Regions from separate parts of the Homo sapiens genome. Here regions 1, 3, 4 and 5 are each linked to region 2. Evidence: promoter capture Hi-C in 16 types of primary human blood cells and fetal thymus (Javierre and others, 2016). All regions are on one chromosome and are shown on one strand. The core of a region is centred on a gene start or on the middle of the fragment in contact, and the rest is flanking DNA. Distances in the headings are between cores, read along the strand shown. Region 1 overlaps HS3ST5 (heparan sulfate-glucosamine 3-sulfotransferase 5). Region 2 holds the start of LAMA4 (laminin subunit alpha 4). Region 3 overlaps HDAC2 (histone deacetylase 2). Region 4 overlaps LOC124901382 (a long non-coding RNA gene). Region 5 overlaps HDAC2 (histone deacetylase 2).

Region 1 (2,700 bases), core at 3-2,502, 1.8 Mb after region 2:
TTTCCTTTAATCTGGAGCACAAGGCACACAGATCATAAAATTTAGAGTACTGCAAAAGTCATTGAGTAATCAACAAAAAGTTAATCAATTTGCAAAGTGAAGTTTTCATCATGTGTCTGTACCTAAGGCCAATAAATCAAACTAAGTGGATTCAGCTCTCTAAGCTAGCATGGAGGGAAAGACCATATCCCTTATTAGTTTATTAGGATTTTCTCTAATCCCAGTAGTTGATTCCAAATAATCCACATATATTGCTAGGTGATGACCCCTCTCCTCTTCCACACTAATTTTCCATTCTAATAGCCTAATATTAGCGTCCATGCTTTATCCCAGCTGAATCAGGAGTGCAGCCTTACCTAGGCAGCTGAAATCCCCACAGATATGACCCAAAGCTGCATGATTATTATGACTCTTGGCCTTTTCATATATAGTTAGTCAATATTTACAAGCACTGCAGTCTATGAATAAGGTACAGCTCAGGGAATAACTCCTAAGAAATGGAAAAAAATGTGGCTAGTTTTCCTACAGTCTGAAGGAAAAGAAAGACCCCAACTTCATGGTTCATATTCTAATATGTTTTACCTTTTATCCTATATTGTGGTTCTCTCTGGATAGAATTTTCTAAAAATAAATTTATTCTTCTACAATGATTTATTCTAGGAGACATAGGATGACAATTCCTAGCTGAAGCCTACATGTGTGTTACGAACCATACACAAACAGACCAATGTGTAGATAGGTGGCATGAGCTCACACCCTTCCCCACATACATGTCTTTCATCAAGACAATCTTTATAGTCTCTGGGTCACGTTCTCCACGCAGAGATTGCAGACGATAGAGAGGCATCCTACCACACCTCGGTTAAAGAGAAAAATTTGATGTCTGGACATGTGTAGTCTTGTGGAAAGGAACCTTATTTCACTCATAGACGAGCAGTAGTATGGCTAGCAGTATTTCCCCAGAGATGGTCTGATTTAAAAAAAAAATCGATATCAACTCTTGACACATTTTCATTTACATCAGCACATGGCTTTCAGTCGGGGCACAAATCAATAGGCAGCTTTTAACACTGCCCAACTATTTCTTCCTATTGGGCTTGAGGCAGGCCATTTGCCGTTAACATACCATGTTTCTTGGGGGAGGAAGTTTAACTGTTTTTCCTGTGACTAATCACAACAGCCTAAACTGTAGCATTAATCACACGACATTTTCTTCATCACCACTTACAGCCAATTGACTTTTTACTTAGTGAAAGCATTTGAAGAAGGTGACAGTTGTTCTAAGGGGGTCAAGAGTCAATGGAAAGAAGAAATATTTAGTTCCAAAACATACACAGTATATGGCTTCAAAAGCTGACACTATGCCAGGCATCATTAGAAGGCTTATCACTCTATAGGTACGATCTCACAGTCAAGATGGAGGAGAAGATTTGTGTAAAATTAAAGTGCTAGCTAAGAGTCATAGCTTTTGGTTTGAAAACAATTAATCTGGGCCTTTCTATAAATTAAAAGTCACATCAAGGGTCACTAGTAATTGGCAAAGTGTTTTCTCTAACTTTTGGAAGTGAATTATTTTTCTGTCTTTTTTTCTAAAACTAGCAGGAAAGTTCAGTTAGGTCTGATGTCCTGTGAGGCTGGCAATCTGTGCAGTATTGGCAGTCTCGATTAAATGTAATATCTGGTTCATTGCTGCAGCAACTCAGATTTCTAAATAATGAATCAAATTCTTACATTATTCAAAAGCCACAAAAGGGTTATTAAGCCGAATAAGCAGATACTCACAAAGGTTTACAACATATTTATTTAGGGCAACTCCAAAGCACAAAAGTAACATGTTTTAAAAATATACAAAAAGACAACTTCCTATATGATATTGCATTATATCTATATTGTCCCAAACAGCAGTATCTTTTTAGAGTAGGACTCTCCTGGGATGTTATTCTCCTCACATGCTCCTAAAAAAGCACCACGTGGTTAAAAAATTTTGAAGAATGATGTAATTGAGGACAGAGTGCCCCTTTTGTTGATTTACAGTGCCTGTGGGTATATCAAAAGCTCCAAAAATATTTTCAATAAAGAAAACTGTGTATGATGCTAGTGAGGCTGCAGAGAAAAGGGAGTGCTTATATACTGCTGATGGGAATGTAAATCAGTTCTGCCATTGTGGAAAGTAGTTTGGCAATTTCTCAAACAACTTAAAACAGAATTATCATTTGACCCAGCAATCCCATTATTGGGTACATATCCAAAGGAATAGAAATTATTCTGCCATAAAGACACATGCACACGTGTGTTCATCACAGCAGTATTCACAATAGTAAAGGCATGGAATCAACCTAAATTCCCATCAACGGTAGACTGGGTAAAGAAAATGTGGTACATGTACACCATGGAATGCTATGCAGCTATAAAAAATAATGAGATCATGTCCTTTGTGGCAACATGGATGGACATGGAGGTCATTATCCTAAGCAAACCAACTCAGGAACAGAAAACCAAATACCACATGTTCTCACTTATAAGTAGTAGCTAAACATTGAGTGCACTTGGACACAAAGATGAGAACAAGAGACACTGGGGCCTACTTGAGGGTGAAGGATGGGAGAAGGGTGAGGATCTAAAAACTACCTATCAGGTACTATACTTAGTTATCTGGGTGGTGAAATCTGTATACCAAACCTCTGTGACACACAATTTACC
Region 2 (2,700 bases), core at 95-2,594:
TCAGGGGTTCTTAAATCACTTGTTCTGGATTCATTCTCCTTTACCAGACCTCTACATTCTGGTTTTGTTTCCAACTTAAAAGCTATTGTAAGGTATTCAAACAGCAGCTCTTTGAATAAACATATTATCAATAGCATATCCTGAGGCTTGATTTTAATGGAAACATCTTGTTTCTGGAATACAATGGCTCGTTTCTACTTAAGATACCCTCTCAGCAGTTGTCTAACAGCTCCTTTCATGACCAGCCACTCTCACTCACCCCCTCACCTTCCCTGCTGCAGAAGACTTCTTGTCTAATATGAGACAAAAAGATCCTGCAGTAGTGTTCCCACTGTCCTAACAGCACAGAGGAGCAGGAAGCCAGTGACAGGGCACACACGTTAAGTGCCGTGGCTTGACAAAATGACTACTGGGACACGCAAGTGGCAGAAGTCACCGATGTGCTGCTGCAGTCCCCGGTGAGAGTCTAGCGGATGAACTCAGAGCACCAACACATGCACTCTCACCCCTTTGAGCAGACACATTCCGAAGCCTCAACTTTCAACTCTCAACATCCAAATGCAACTTACAAAGGAAAACTCTTTATTTCAAGTTTCCGAACTGACCTAGCCCAGGTGAAACTCTCAAGGCACTGGGGAGAGGAAAGAGGCGGAGAGAGAGAGAAGGACGAGTGTGGCACAGCCCGCGGGGGCGCAGGTGCCCCAGCAGGGTGGCAATGGCAGGGACACTGTACCTCGGCCGCAGGCGGCAGGCGTCCCAGAGCCACGCGGGGTTCGCTCGTCTCAGGCGGGTCTTGCCTGCCAACCGCTGAGCTCCCTTCAATGTCAAAAGGAAAAGCGTTGTCGTCCCCGGACGCGGCGCGGGAGCAGGCAGCGCTCCAGAGGAGCCACAGAGGCAGAACCGAGCGCCAGGCTGAGCTCAAAGCCATTTCTCCGCTGACATCCAGTAGTGCTCTTCCAGGGCTCGGGCGCTGTGGGTCTCCGTAGGTCTCCCGCGTGGTGCGGCGGTGCCTCGCTTATTTTCCCTCCTCTCCGTGTGCAGTATCCCGAGGTGGCTGCGCAACCAGCAGCTTAGGAAATAAAGGGAAAGTGCGAGAGTAAGGGAGAGTTCCAGCCTCTCTCTCCCTCTCTCTCTCTCCCCTTCTCCCCCTCTCTCTCCCTCTCCCTCTCCCTCTTTCACTTTTTCTCCTTCCCGCAGAGGTTCTGGCTCAAGAACCTACAGATGGACGGAGCTTACAGTACGGCATCAAAAGGCAGACGGATTGGGGTGAGCCCCGCCAGCGCTAGGCCACCTCCTCTCCCTGGCCGTTCGGGACTGGGGACTGCGCTGTCCTGGCTTCCTTCTCACATTCATTCTCACCACTCCCTTTTTACCTTCTACTCCCAGGCCCTCCCACTCTAAGCTGGCTTTTCAGACACTGAGGTCCGCCTTTCCCTGCGGTCTTCCCTCCCCTCTCAGTTTGGAGCCCCTCCAAGGGCTCCAGAAGAATATTCAGCTTTTGTGACGCTTCCTCACCACTCTTATTTATGTAGTCAAGGTACCGGATGTCTTATCTATATTTACATAGATATTTTATGTGGCCCCCGCTAGTTTGCAGGAAAGTGGGTGGAAAAGGGATTCCAGGGCAGGAACCAAAGGTAGATGATCTCTGAAGGCAGAGGGTCAGGGTGCCCACTTTCTTGAGCAAGGTTTCTCGGGTTTTTTCTGGGGGATAGACTGTTGCACTCTTTGTGCTAATATCTTCTCTTCAGATTCACTGGCCACCCCTCTTCCTCCCTCCAGTCCTCACCCAGAGGGCTTGGGAGAAGAATATCTTTCACTGCAGCGCTGGAAAATGACTTCATTACCCAAATGCATGAACTTTTATTTACAAAGACCATCTTGTTTTCATCCTAAAGAGGTGCTTTGTAAGGGGCCCGGAACAAGGCTTGCAGTGTATGAGCCTGTCAAGTATACTGCCTACAGCCCCGGCCTCTTCCTCTTGGCCTGTAATCTCATGCCTACTACATCTGTCTGAATCATGTAACCTTTCCAAGACTTCAGGGTGAAGTTGGGCTACAGCTATGTCAGGGGTGCCCCTGTGGATGGGATAGTGTCTGCAACAGCTGATAGGTACCTTTGTTTACATTGGCTTCATAACGAGCTCTAAACATTTCCACAAGATCCAACCATGGTTTAAAAATGGTCAGATGAGACAACCATAAAATGACACCCAGGTAAGCTTCCAGGTGAAATAAAGCATTTTTGTATAACCTAATCATAAAATAAATAAATAAAGCCTTTCCATAAAACCTAATCATTAGCTCCATTTCATAGAACAAAAGTCATTTTATCTAAGTGTAAGCAAAACCATTTATTTTGCACCTAACATGTGCCAGATACTTGGCATATGCTATTTGTAAACCTCAGCATTCCTGCAAAGTAGTACCATTATTTTCCTTTTACAGAAGAAGAAAGTGAGGTTCAGAGAGACTAGGACATTTGCCCAAGGTCGCACAGCTGGTGGAAAGCAGAGATGGGGTTTGGATCCAGGCCTCACTGATTCCAAAGCTCTCTTTTACATCTGTATACACGACACTGCAACTTTAAAATAAAGAGTATGAATTCAGAGGTGAAGGAAATGGACACTTTTATTTTTTGAGTGCCTCCCATGTGCAAAAAAATCACATAAATTGTCTCATTTAGGGCTGGGCGTGGTGG
Region 3 (2,700 bases), core at 186-2,685, 1.7 Mb after region 2:
TCCTTTTGTTATCAAAATTCACAATCATTAAAACTTCTGTTTTACACAAATAACCCGAAAGATAACACACCAAGTTCAGATCAACTTTTAAATCTGATTGCATTAGCACTTACCAACTGAACCGCCAGTTGAGAGCTGACAAAACTCAAAGAGTCCATCAAACACTGGACAATCTTCTCCAACATTAACTGTGGAAGATGGATTTCATTAATTTCAACACATTCTGCAAATTAATGAAAGCCTTTTCTTACAAAAACTATTTCCCACAAATACTTTTTTGCTTGATGCAATCATCAAACATACACTTCACAGTATAATATAAAGTTTCCAACTTTAAAATATATTTATTGTTTTATCCAAGGTAATTAAAGTGTTATCTGTGAAAGATCATCAAATCTTATCAGGATTATCTGTGGAATATTTCTGTCTATTAACAAGAACTCAATAGTTGTCTAAGTACAACAATTCTTATTTAATTAAAACACAGGCTTAAATTTTCTAGGCCTTTCCCCTTAATATTACAATAAGTTAACATTCTAAAAGCAACTTCAATTGCTTTATAATTTACTTTCTTTGAAACTCCTTAAATACCTATAATATCTGTAACTTTGAAATGCATGTCAGTAAGTTACTAAACCAAAAAGATGTAACAGCTGGTTGCCTATTCCCATGGCTAATCTTGATCTTGAAAGTTGCTAAGAATTAACTAGGTTCATGGGAGCCAAAACATAGGATACTAAAGACAACAAGGAAAACATTTACAGATAAACGATCACACATTTAGTTCCTTAGCACTGAGAGAATGAAAGGATATGGCAGATGTATGTAACCCTTTCTTAGTCTTTCCCTATGCCCTTGAATTGTAACCTCTTCAAGAATAAGGGTCCTTGTTTTGTATATTAATATCTTTGTATACCCTTAAGTCACAAGCACTATAAGAAATGAATTTTAGTTTCTTACTGCACAGAGAGATCATAATCTTTTTTTTTTTTTGGAGACAGAGTCTCACTCTGTCGCCCAGGCTGGAGTGCAATGGCGTGAGCTTGGCTCACTGCAACCTCCACCTCTGGGGCTCAAGCAAGCAATTCTCCTGTCTCAGCCTACAGAGTAGTGGGATTACAGGCGCGCACCACCACACCCAGCTAATTTTCTGTACTTTTTTAATAGAGACAGGGTTTTGCCATGTTGGCCAGGCTGGTTTCGAACTCCTGACCTCAGGTAATCCACTCACCTCCGCCTCCCAAAGTGCTGGGATTACAGGCGTGAGCCACCACACCTGGCCAGGATCATAAGCTTAATAGAACTCATTATTATGTGGGTTTTAAATCAATCCTGTTATGTTGTTTGCCCAAGGGCTACTCATGCCTCTTTTGCATCTAAGTTGGAATCTTCATTGAAAAAAAAAAAATTAAATACTACATGTTCTAGTTACATTGTAGCATTATAACAAATCAAACAAGATATGGCAGAAATGTGTATGAGGTTGTAAATATGAGATGTCTAGCACCTACACTAATTTAGTATAATCATCACTGAAGTCAGTCAATACAAACACTAATGAGAATGAACTTTGGTATCAAGCTTTAAAAGATACTGTTCCAATAATTTTAGGTTGACTTTTGCATTCTACCTTCAAGCCAATTTGTTACTAATCTCTAAAAATAAAATACTTTTAACCTGTACAAGAGAACATTACGTAGAATCAAAAGCTTCACTAATATCTTAACAAAGAAAAAGAGATGTGTATTATAGTCCAGGTTAACTGAAGTACACAAAGACAAGACAAGAGATATGTACATGCCAAGCTAAGGCTAATCAAAGTGTAATCTTGTTTTTGTTTTTTTGAAGCGAGGGAGTAAGGGAGTGAGGTCTCCCTACCAATATGTATTAACCCAAAGTTATCAGGGGAGCAAACTAGGAGTAGAAGAATACCCAAACAGCAGTTTTGCAAACCAATAAGCTTCAGATAGGTTTACTTTTTTCTTAAGTAGCTTTAGTAGTGTTAAAATGACTTTTCAAATCAGTAAATAACTGTAACATATTAGACCAACAGGAAAAATATTCAGATTTAGATCATTCTAAGCTCCTAAAAATACTAATTTACATTTATCAAAGCAAAACTACTTTTTACTTAGAAACGTACATCTCTGCATCTGCTTACTATACTCAGACATGTTATCTGGTCTTATTGACCGTAGAAATTTGATATACTCATCACTGTGATATTTTGTCATTTCTTCGGCAGTGGCTTTATGGGGCCTCTGTGAAGAGAAATAAATGTCAGAACTGTGGAATTACAACCGGTTATATCAGTATTATCAAACAAATATACAAATTCCCCTATCGGTCCCCTCAAAAGAACCAAGTCTACCAGAACAAAATATATAAATTCCAAAACTAACCCAAACTTATATGTGTTTTAGAAAACAGTAATCAATCTCAAAACTAATTCAAACTCCTTTAAAAGCATTACACAGGCATATCAACTATGATTTAATCACTCCTTATTTTAGTGGAAACAGTTCGAGTAAAAAGTCAAATCCATATGTTCATAAACTCTACTTTCTCTCCTTTTCCATGATAAAACATCCAGTGATTTCATCAATGAAATCACTCACTACAAGAGTTTTCAATTCTAAATCTTTGTTCACGACCTCTCGTCCTTTTTTCTATCCTAATCTTCCTTGTTCCGAAGAGCTC
Region 4 (2,700 bases), core at 69-2,568, 1.6 Mb after region 2:
TATGAAGGGATTGTGAAAGAGGAGAGAGATAATTAAGCATTTGGTTTGTACCAAGGAGGAAACACGTTTAATTTATAGCAGGAAAGGCTTAGTTTCAAGTTGGTAGACTTCCTGGCACATTGCGCTGTAAGATACTATTGAGCTGAAAATTGCAAAGAAAGGAGAACTTACTCAATGTCAGTCAAGATGGCATTAGTAAACTTGGAAGCTTCCCTGCATCTTTTTTGGATATGAAGTATAATGATTTGACATAAATATACTACTGCCTAAAACAAAAGAGCTGGATTCTACCACTATTAGAGTCACTTAACAGGGAGAATCACTTCACCCTGGGTCTCCTGATAGCAATTCAGTAACTAAGTTCCCTTGGTTGAGTTCCAAGACCAGTAATTCTTATAAGGAGGTTCACTCTAGAGCAAATAGTGTTTATGGTGATGTTTAAGCCTTACCCACATTCAATTTGAATTACAATGGAAAGTAAAAGTATTTGACATCTAATAATCCATTTACATTTGTTAGTGATCTCAATTTAAATCACCGTGCCTATGGCCTGACAGATGAGTTACTAGATTTTGATTTTCCTGAGGTTTATAATGTTTTAAAACTCATTAACATTTTAAATATTTACTATCTCATTTTATTACATAAAGCAGCACACAAACAAACTGAAAATTATTTCTAAACCAAATTTAATCCAGAACAGTTATTAAAACAATATATGTTAAAAAATGACATTTTAAAAAGCAAATGTGAAGAAGATACAGAGAAATACTGGAGTATCCATTGTCAGAATGATTTAATTTCAGTTCAAAGGGATTTGAAGATCAGTTAATTTGTCCATCCTTCGTCATGTTATACACAGGCTGCCTCTTTGCATGTTCCTTGAAGTTGTGCAGGACAGAGCCTGTGTGGCCTCGCCCAGTGCCCTGGTGATAGATGGGAAAATGGACTTAAATGCACTTGCCCCAGGCTTCTTAAAATGTTTGATTTCTTGTTGACTTCTTGGGTGCTTTCCAAACTCCACAGTGTTGAAATAAAAGTTGACCTGCTAAATCTAAATTCACATTCTATACCAGGACATGTTGTCTGGTTAAAATGAGAACCTTGGAGGATATTATATTAAGTGAAATAATCCAGGCATAGAGAGACAAATACTGCATGTTCTCACTCATTTATGGAAGGCAAAAAAGTTGACCTCATGGAAGTAGAGAGTAGAATAGTGGCTCCTAGAGGCTGGGAAAGTTGTGTGTGTTAGGGGTGGGGTGGTAGGGAGCTAGCCAGAGGTTGATTAGCAAATACTAAGTTACTGCTAGATAGGAGGAATAAATCTTAGTGTTCTATGGCACTATAGAATGACTATAACTAACAAAAATTTACTTTCAATTTTTGTGAATAATTTATATTCAAAACCTACAAGAGTGGATTTTGAATGCTCCCAACACAAAGAAATAAAGTTTTGAGGTGATGAATTTGCTATTTACCCTGATTCGATCCCTACACAGTGTGTAGGTGTGTCAAAATATCACATGGTACCCCATAAGTATGTACAATTATTATGTCAATTAAAAATAAAAGGAAATAATCACTAGTGAAGACAAAACTGATTTAAATCTTAAAAACTTTATGCTCTCCAAATATCTAAATGCTTTCAAAACAGAATTTCAAAATGCATCCAGAGGAAGGACATAGAATAGAGTAGAAAAAATAGTGCATAGCTGTTTGGATAGCAATAGCAGTAAACCTGTTTTTTTAAAAAATGAACAGTTCCCTTGAGGTAGAAAGTAGGTAGGAGCACGTGGAAGAAGCTCAGGCCTGGAGCCATTTGGTGGCATCAACCTCTGGTGATTTGAGAGCTGCTCTGCCACCTGCGGTGCTCTCAGCAGTTCCTGTCTCATTGTCTTAATTTTATGGGATCCTGGTTTAGGTAACCTCACAGAAGCAACGATTCTTTGAGGAATCTATAAAATGTAACTTAGAGAAGTCATTGAGCGATAGCTGAAGGAGACACTGGGGAAAATTGAGAATGTGAGCAACAGCAAGCAGAGGTAGCACTAAGATATTTATTTTTGCATTTGCGGAAATGCATCTAACTTATATGTTATGTAACTTGTATCCTTTGGACTTCAAAATGCATTGAAATATATGCAAATAGAAACTTTTAACCTCTTTTTCTTTTCTGTCCTGGTGAATTATTTGTACCATGGTCATTGTGATACAATTTCTGACATTTATCCACCATGAAGGGCAAGAAATATCATATACTTCTTTGGCATTCCTTACATGTACAGCATTATGATGGGGGTAGGACAGAGTTTTATTACATTTGTCTCATATTATTAAGGTAAAGGAAAGGGAGAGATGAATCCCTAGTTTTCTAGGTTCCTGTTTATTGTCCCAAATATACCATGTATGTGTTTTTTCATTTGTCAAAGCTTATCAATTGAGTGTGAAACTCTATTTTCATTCATAGTCCACAAAGACTTACTCTAAATTGCAACCTATTGCAGTGGAAAACAAACAAAGAAAAACAAAAACAGGCTGGCTGGCACTGAAAGTGCTGGCAGGCTGAAGCAGTAATCTGTTGGTAATTTTATAAGATTTCTTTGCTGATTACTATTTGGGCAGTGTCCACATCACTGATGAGTTCACACACTCACAGCTGTTCTAGGAGCAAGACAACATCTCCAAAAACAGACAAGG
Region 5 (2,700 bases), core at 183-2,682, 1.7 Mb after region 2:
TATAGCTTTTTATTTACTGAGGTTAAAGATCTTTTCATATTTACAAACTATTTATATGTATTTGTTTCCCAGTTCACATCCTTATACATTTTGTTCCTCTACTATCTTTAGATATGAGCCTTTTGACCTGGATGAGTTACAAATCTGCCTCCCACTCTGTCTTTTGTCATTTTTCTTGACTTGTCTTCTAAGTTTTTGTTGGTCCACTGAACTAATTTTTTTTTTGTTATCAAATATATCTTTTATAGTTGAGTTTGGTGTCACACTTAGGCCTTCTTCAATCCATTTGCTTTAAGAGTTTAGGTTTTTGGTAGTTTTATCTTTTCCTATTTAAATCTTCTAGTGGAGGGCAGAAAACTGGGTTTTCCATTTGGTTACCAGTTGTTGTCCCAATTCCACTTACAAAATAATGTCTTTCCTTGCCAATTTCAAATATCATTTTTATCCTATATGAATTTTTTAAAGTATTAGGGTATTCTGACATCTTACTATGTTACATTGACCTTACTAGACACAAGAACCATAGCTTCTTTACATATTATTTCTAAAAATTTTGTTATTACAAATGGGGGTCTTTGTTCTTCCAACAGACTTGGTCACTAAGTGTTACTGATTTCTGTTTATTAATGCTGTACCAAATCACCTTGCTGAAATTGCTTTAGATAGTTCTCTTGAGGTTTTAGTTGTATATAACCAACTACTTAGAAAAACAAAACCTCTTAAATACACCCAAGGAGATCCAGTATAGTATTGAAGTGTACAATTTCAGTATGTTCACACAATGGAACATAATACATAGCAGTCAAAATGAACTATACTTAACATGTGTCAACAGGGGTAGATCAGAATATTAAATGAAAAAAAGCAAAGGGCCTTTGTCTCCTGGCACCCGGATACTGAGCTCAGTTTCCGTCTTCACTGTTCCATCTCCTCCATCCACTACTCCAGGATCTCATAGGTGACTCTACCACAGCCCCTGTTGTCCTGTGAGCTGCAGGCACTGGGAAATCCACAGGGAGGATGCCAGAACATCTGGAGCCTGCGAAATGGTATTTTCTTATTTAAAACAGGATCATCATGGTAGACGGGAGGCATGGTGGGAGGGGGGCGAGGGATAAAAGATTACAAATAGGGTGCAGTGTACACTGCTTGGGTGATGGGTCCACCAAAATCCCACAAATCACCACTAAAGAACTTAATCATGTAACCAAACACCACCTGTTCCCCAATAAGCTATGGAAAAATAAAAATAAAAAAAGCAAAGTTACAGAATTGTCCAAATACATACCATCTATGTTTCACAAACACTAAATACATTTCATTATCCCCCTAACGAAGGGACTAAGTTTCTTAGTTCCTAATGTCATAAAGGTTTACAGATTGATAACAAATATGTAGCAAAAGTACAAAAACATGGGTAAAATATTCACAAAAACATGGATAAAATAATCACAATGGTGATTACTTCTTAAGGCTGGGAGGGAGGGAGGATTACAAACGACAAAGTACACAAAGAGAGCTTCAATTTCGGTGTATTTTAAGAAAAAAACACCGAAGCAAATATAGCAAAAGTAAAATATTTGTTAAGTCGGGGTGGGTGCACAGCTGTTCATTACAAAAGTCTAGGTGCTATTGTGAATGTCTGAAACATTTAAGAGGCTTGTAGAGAAATATTTTTTCTTTTAATATTTTACTGCACTGAAGAGAAATACTTTTGACTGAATTATCTTCTGGCATTCTGTAATTTTTAATCTCAAAAGAATCAATGTGGGCCTGACAAAAAGGGAGATTTCACTGATTTTGGCAAGTTCCTAAAATGTTTTGTCTTCTTTGCACATCTTAGTAGCAGGAGTTACCCCCATTTGTCTGCTTCCTGCTACTAGAATGTAAGCTCTGAGTGTAAGCTCTGAGTGAAAGCATTTTTCCATTATATTCAGTTACACTCCTACAGTCTTAAAATGGGCAGACACACAATAAGTAGTTGCTGAATGATAAATCAGTTGTGTTTATTTCCTTGAGTTAGAAACCTGGATGTCACGTAAATAATAATGGAACCTGGATGCCATGTAAATGCAGTAAAAGAAACAGGTTTTGTCTGCAGGTTCCATTTTAAACCAGCAATATACTATAGGCAAGTCTGGTCAATACAAGTTCTGGTCAGTTTCTTCTTTCAATTCAGAATTTCCATTTCAATTTTGAGAATCTTTGGGTCAACTCAAAGAACTCCTACATCTCAATTGCAGAGTCTGTATTATTTCATAAATTGTAATGGGATGTTAATCTTCACTGATACTAACTGGCTAAGCTATAGAGGGCAAGGTGGTAGAATTTCTATTGCAAAGATAAGTAATAATTACTATAAATACTCTTCCCAAAGAAACAGCAAATAGTTATCTTTCAAGCTGTAATCATTATCTTTCACCTAGAGTGTATTGTAAGTCTACAGAAATGATGTCATTAGCCACTGAAACAAGACTTCATATTGTAGTAATAAACAGACAAAAGATAATCCAAGTACAATTTTTTAATAAAGATAATTACAAAAGATGGAAAAATCAGCTCAGAAAGGCCAATTACTTCTTTAATAGATCAGTTTTTTTGACATAATAACTCACATCAATTTTAAATACTATCACATAAAGCATGGTGGAGAAAAGAAATTTTGCTTCATAATTAGAAAAACTCACAATAAAACTTGCC

Evidence for each region. The method cuts DNA at HindIII sites, captures the fragments that hold promoters and counts their contacts. A CHiCAGO score of 5 or more calls a contact.
Region 1: a fragment that was not itself captured here is called in contact with the fragment with the promoter of LAMA4 in region 2 in 1 of 17 cell types (total B cells); the score reaches 5.5 in total B cells.
Region 3: a contact is called between a fragment that was not itself captured here and the fragment with the promoter of LAMA4 in region 2, in 1 of 17 cell types (total B cells). The highest score is 5.0, in total B cells.
Region 4: a contact is called between a fragment that was not itself captured here and the fragment with the promoter of LAMA4 in region 2, in 8 of 17 cell types (total B cells, naive B cells, naive CD8 T cells and 5 more). The highest score is 14.5, in total B cells.
Region 5: a fragment that was not itself captured here is called in contact with the fragment with the promoter of LAMA4 in region 2 in 6 of 17 cell types (total B cells, naive B cells, non-activated CD4 T cells and 3 more); the score reaches 14.1 in total B cells.

What each region holds. Positions count from the first base shown.
Region 1 is chr6:114,099,462-114,102,161 of GRCh38, forward strand. All of the region lies in intron 3 of HS3ST5 (heparan sulfate-glucosamine 3-sulfotransferase 5), which reads right to left. All of the region lies in intron 5 of HDAC2-AS2 (HDAC2 and HS3ST5 antisense RNA 2), which reads left to right. Among named protein-coding and RNA genes, the nearest start is that of HDAC2, 130 kb to the left of the region's middle. The HindIII fragment of the contact is 5,243 bases long and covers 1-2,700 here.
Region 2 is chr6:112,253,223-112,255,922 of GRCh38, forward strand. It overlaps LAMA4 (laminin subunit alpha 4), which reads right to left and starts at 1,345. Exons shown (of 39, transcript NM_001105206.3): 1 at 1,237-1,345; 2 at 734-1,069. The coding sequence starts at 928. The region is part of intron 2 of LAMA4-AS1 (LAMA4 antisense RNA 1); the gene reads left to right. The HindIII fragment of the contact is 4,256 bases long and covers 1-2,219 here.
Region 3 is chr6:113,956,506-113,959,205 of GRCh38, forward strand. It overlaps HDAC2 (histone deacetylase 2), which reads right to left. Exons shown (of 14, transcript NM_001527.4): 3 at 2,144-2,261; 4 at 114-188. Among named protein-coding and RNA genes, the nearest start is that of HDAC2-AS2, 12 kb to the right of the region's middle. The HindIII fragment of the contact is 288 bases long and covers 1,292-1,579 here.
Region 4 is chr6:113,881,580-113,884,279 of GRCh38, forward strand. It overlaps LOC124901382 (a long non-coding RNA gene), which reads left to right. Exons shown (of 3, transcript XR_007059716.1): 2 at 1-2,700. Among named protein-coding and RNA genes, the nearest start is that of MROCKI, 9.6 kb to the left of the region's middle. The HindIII fragment of the contact is 2,224 bases long and covers 207-2,430 here.
Region 5 is chr6:113,938,208-113,940,907 of GRCh38, forward strand. It overlaps HDAC2 (histone deacetylase 2), which reads right to left. Exons shown (of 14, transcript NM_001527.4): 14 at 1-2,700. Among named protein-coding and RNA genes, the nearest start is that of HDAC2-AS2, 30 kb to the right of the region's middle. The HindIII fragment of the contact is 4,520 bases long and covers 1-2,700 here.